Regions from separate parts of the Homo sapiens genome. Here region 2 is linked to region 1. Evidence: promoter capture Hi-C in 16 types of primary human blood cells and fetal thymus (Javierre and others, 2016). All regions are on one chromosome and are shown on one strand. The core of a region is centred on a gene start or on the middle of the fragment in contact, and the rest is flanking DNA. Distances in the headings are between cores, read along the strand shown.

What was found. The method cuts DNA at HindIII sites, captures the fragments that hold promoters and counts their contacts. A CHiCAGO score of 5 or more calls a contact.
Region 2: a contact is called between a fragment that was not itself captured here and the fragment with the promoter of OXER1 in region 1, in 1 of 17 cell types (naive B cells). The highest score is 5.6, in naive B cells.

The regions. Positions count from the first base shown.
Region 1 is chr2:42,762,858-42,765,440 of GRCh38, reverse strand. It overlaps OXER1 (oxoeicosanoid receptor 1), which reads left to right and starts at 1,306. Exons shown (of 1, transcript NM_148962.5): 1 at 1,306-2,583. The coding sequence starts at 1,379. The coding sequence ends at 2,533. The HindIII fragment of the contact is 6,399 bases long and covers 1-2,583 here.
Region 2 is chr2:43,577,988-43,580,570 of GRCh38, reverse strand. It overlaps THADA (THADA armadillo repeat containing), which reads left to right. Exons shown (of 38, transcript NM_022065.5): 9 at 1,964-2,058. Among named protein-coding and RNA genes, the nearest start is that of THADA, 17 kb to the left of the region's middle. The HindIII fragment of the contact is 1,326 bases long and covers 616-1,941 here.

The DNA.
Region 1 (2,583 bases), core at 57-2,556:
CCTCCCAAAGTGCTGGGATTACAGGCTTAAGCCACTGTGCCTGGCCTATAAGTTTTTACATAAATTATCTCATTTTATCCTCACAACTCTCCAAGAAGGTGGTAGTGCCTGATTTTACAGATCAGGCTCAGAGAGGTTTGGAAATAGGGCAGCTCTGTTTCCAACCCAGGCCTGTCTGCATATGGAGCTTAGGCTGGGCCTCACCACCCTGCTTCTCCCAGGGATGTTTGCCCTCAGCCTTGACCAAATGGGAGCCCAGGGCAGCCAAGAGAGGCCAGGGGCCACTGTGCCTGGGACACAGAGGCCAGGCCACACATGGCAGACTGCTGACCCCAGCCAGTTGGCAGTGATGGGGTCAGGCCCTGGAGCCTGGAACCAGCACCTCCCTTGGCCCTGCTGTCCCGGGTTATCAGGAGCCTGAAGCCCTCATCTCCACCCACAGGACCAGCCCATGGGCTCATGAGAATACCTCACCATGGGACAGCTGGACTTGTACCTTGTCTGGAGCTAGCCCCAGCCTCCCACTCCCTATTCCGCAGTGAATGCTAATGGGGGCAAGGAGTGGAGTGGACAAGGAGCCATGGGGAGACACAGACAGGGAAAAATCAGGATTGTTCTATTTGCGGGAGAAGCCCCCAGCTCCCCGTGCCATGGCAGTAGAAATTTGGCAGGGGCGTCCCCGTCCATGGGGCCTACTTCACCGTGTACCCGGACTTGGGACCATCACAGACTTCGGAACCATCAGGAACCTGGGAGCAACTGAAAGCTGAACTACAGTGGGCTTTCAGACACACAGCAGGCTGGCGGAGCACAAATAGGACTGGTTCCCTCCAGGCCACCAGCAGGGCGGTGGAGGTCTTCACTGACTCCCTGCCTACCTCTCAGGACAATGTCCTTTTGGCTCCACAGTCCCTGAAGCCAGAGCTGGTGGGGGCAGGGAGGCAGCCACCAGCCTCTATATGTAGTGGAGGAGGGGGTGTCCAGGGAGGGCTGCATGATCCTGAGAGCCCCCACCTCACCCGGCTGGACTATCCTCCCACTTCAGGGTTTCTCTGGGCTTCCATCTTGCCCCTGCTGAGCCCTGCTTCCTCCTCTACCAGCAGCACAACCCCCAGGCTGGGCTCAGAGACCTCATGTGGTGGGATCACTCAGTACCCCGAGGCGGAGGGAAGGAGGGAGGGCTGCAGGGTTCCCCTTGGCCTGCAAACAGGAACACAGGGTGTTTCTCAGTGGCTGCGAGAATGCTGATGAAAACCCCAGGATGTTGTGTCACCGTGGTGGCCAGCTGATAGTGCCAATCATCCCACTTTGCCCTGAGCACTCCTGCAGGGGTAGAAGACTCCAGAACCTTCTCTCAGGCCCATGGCCCAAGCAGCCCATGGAACTTCATAACCTGAGCTCTCCATCTCCCTCTCTCTCCTCCTCTGTTCTCCCTCCCTCCTTCTCTCCCTCACCCTCCTCTGCTCCCTCTGCCTTTACCACTGTGGGGGGGTCCTCTGGAGGGCCCTGCCACCCCACCTCTTCCTCGCTGGTGTCTGCCTTCCTGGCACCAATCCTGGCCCTGGAGTTTGTCCTGGGCCTGGTGGGGAACAGTTTGGCCCTCTTCATCTTCTGCATCCACACGCGGCCCTGGACCTCCAACACGGTGTTCCTGGTCAGCCTGGTGGCCGCTGACTTCCTCCTGATCAGCAACCTGCCCCTCCGCGTGGACTACTACCTCCTCCATGAGACCTGGCGCTTTGGGGCTGCTGCCTGCAAAGTCAACCTCTTCATGCTGTCCACCAACCGCACGGCCAGCGTTGTCTTCCTCACAGCCATCGCACTCAACCGCTACCTGAAGGTGGTGCAGCCCCACCACGTGCTGAGCCGTGCTTCCGTGGGGGCAGCTGCCCGGGTGGCCGGGGGACTCTGGGTGGGCATCCTGCTCCTCAACGGGCACCTGCTCCTGAGCACCTTCTCCGGCCCCTCCTGCCTCAGCTACAGGGTGGGCACGAAGCCCTCGGCCTCGCTCCGCTGGCACCAGGCACTGTACCTGCTGGAGTTCTTCCTGCCACTGGCGCTCATCCTCTTTGCTATTGTGAGCATTGGGCTCACCATCCGGAACCGTGGTCTGGGCGGGCAGGCAGGCCCGCAGAGGGCCATGCGTGTGCTGGCCATGGTGGTGGCCGTCTACACCATCTGCTTCTTGCCCAGCATCATCTTTGGCATGGCTTCCATGGTGGCTTTCTGGCTGTCCGCCTGCCGATCCCTGGACCTCTGCACACAGCTCTTCCATGGCTCCCTGGCCTTCACCTACCTCAACAGTGTCCTGGACCCCGTGCTCTACTGCTTCTCTAGCCCCAACTTCCTCCACCAGAGCCGGGCCTTGCTGGGCCTCACGCGGGGCCGGCAGGGCCCAGTGAGCGACGAGAGCTCCTACCAACCCTCCAGGCAGTGGCGCTACCGGGAGGCCTCTAGGAAGGCGGAGGCCATAGGGAAGCTGAAAGTGCAGGGCGAGGTCTCTCTGGAAAAGGAAGGCTCCTCCCAGGGCTGAGGGCCAGCTGCAGGGCTGCAGCGCTGTGGGGGTAAGGGCTGCCGCGCTCT
Region 2 (2,583 bases), core at 29-2,528, 820 kb before region 1:
TGAAAGTCTTAGCTATATTTTGTCCAATTAGTATTTCTATTTCTCTTTTTGCCTGGGTTCTCAGGTATTAAAAGGAAAGGAAAGTAGTTAAAGTTACTTTTATTAAGACATAACTTACAGAAAACTTTTCAGAGGTTATTTACTTTTTAAAAGAGGACTGTGTTAGTCTAAAAAAAAGATTCTCTAACTAATGAAATGTAGAGAATACATGATTTTAATATGAGGTAACTTCGGCCGGGTGTGGTGGCTCATGCCTGTAATCCCAGCACTTTGGGAGGCCAAGGCGGGCAGATCACGAGGTCAGGAGATTGAGACCATTCTGGCCAACATGATGAAATCCTGTCTAAAATACTAAAAAACTAAAATACAAAAAAAAACATTAGCTGGGCGTGGTGGCGTGCACCTGTAGTTCCAGCTACTCGGGAGGCTGAGGCAGGGGAATCAGTTGAACCCGGGAGACAGAGGTTGCAGTGAGCCAAGATCATGCCACTGCACTCCAGCCTGGCAACAGAGCAAGCCTCCGTCTCAAAAAAAAAAAAAAAAAAAGAAGTAGCTTTTTTTCCGAAAAGTTGATGGCACCTAATCAGTACTATTCTTTTCCAGCATTTTAAAGCTTCATAATCAGTAAAGTGTTTAGCTGCAAGTAACTGAAAACCAAACCTCCTTTCCCACATAACAAGTTCAGAGGCAGGTCATCCAGAACTGGTATAGGCAGTGTACGACCCACACATTTTCTGCTTTTCTGCTGTGCCATCTTCAGCAGGTTGGTTTTCACCCACGTTTGTTGCCTCGTGGTTGCCATATGACTGCTGTAGCTCCAGATGTGTCTTTATTCAAGGCAGGAAGAAGGAAGGCCAGTTGCGTCTTTACTTTTGATCAGGATACTCAAGTGACTGGCTTAAATCCAACTGGCCTGAACCCTCTTATATGCCTACCTTTAGTTGCAAAGAAGATTGAAGAAGCAAGTATCCTGCTTTTGGCTGGGCATGTGGCTTCCCCAATCAAAGTCACAGTTTTCTTATCAGTGATGAAGGGCAGAGTGGATATTTAGTACGTAGTTTATGATGTCATAAAGAAGTGTTACTTCTTTCCCCAGGTTGAACAACTCACCATGGTATTAGAGGCTAATAGAGATAAAACAAAAAGAAGATACCAAGTCAAAACTGTTTGGTTGCTATGGGTACAGTGTCAGTGCTAGCAAAGTTTGTAATTAGCACTTACCTACATTCTTTATACAAGCCCTGAAATCTCTTTTTGAAAAAGTCTGTGTATATGGTGATTGGGATACAGAGGCATTGGTGGAGGGGAGGGGACAGGTGGTGTTGCTGTTAGGTGTTTTGGGAAGCAATAGTTGGCGAGGAAGAAAGTGTATGTTAGAGGAGAGAGGAAGGAATCACGTTTATTGAGTATCTATATGCTGGGCTTAAAAGCCTTTATATTCAGCCGGGCACAGTGGCTCATGCCTGTAATCCCAACACTTTGGGAGGCCGAGGCAGGCGGATCACAAGGTCAAGAGATCGAGACCATCATGGCCAACGTGGTGAAACCCCATCTCTACTAAAGATACAAAAATTAGCTGGGTGTGGTGGCACGCGCCTGTAGTCCCAGCTACTTGGGAGGCTGAGGCAGGAGAATCGCCTGAACCCAGGAAGTAGAGGTTGCAGTGAGCTGAGGTCACGCTACTACACTCCAGCCTGTCAACAGAGTGAGACTCCTTCTAAAAAGCGTTTATGTTCATTATTCATCTAAACCTGACACTGCCTCAGTTAAGAGTTATCCCATTTTACCCAAGAGAAAAGAGAGTCTGTGGGATGTTAAATAACTTAGGTAAGACCTATTCACCCAGGAAGTGGTCAGACTAGAAATTGTACCCAGGCCTATCTGGCTGCTCAGCATCTGCTCTTTCCACTCTACCAGAATATTCATTATTTAACACAAGCTTCTCTCCTTTTTTGCCAAATAGATGATCTGTTACAGACTGTACAGAGCACATCTGGATTAGCTATTATTCTTTTTATTAAGACTATGTTTCACCCGTCTGAAAAGATTCCTCATTTGGTAAGTGCATCTCCTTTTTAGAATTGTACTTTATTGAGAGTTAGGGTATGTTTAAAAAATAATTTTGGCTTGGTGCAGTGGCTCACACTTATAATCCCAACACTTTGGGAGGCCAGGGCAGGAGGGTCACTTGAGGCCAGGAGTTTGAGATTAGCCTGGGGAGTTTAGCTAGACCTTGTCTCTACAAAAAAAAAAAAAGAAAATTTGCTGGGTATGGTGGTGCACAGCTGTAGTCCCAGCTCTTTGAGAGGTTGAGGTAGGAGGATCGCTTGAGCCTAGGAGTTTAAGGCTGCAGTGAGATAAGATTGCACCAGTCTGGGCAACAGAGTGAGACCTTGTCTCTTAAAAAAAAAAAAAATTAAAAATATTTTTAAAGAAGTGAATTAAAATAATTTTTTTTTGCATTGTCTGGTTCCTTCTGATGACCTTTTTCTGTTATAATAAGAGACAATTCCAAAAATTCAGATAAAGCAACAATAACAAAAAGACAATAACAGTCACCTGTAAGTCCATCTCACAAAGATA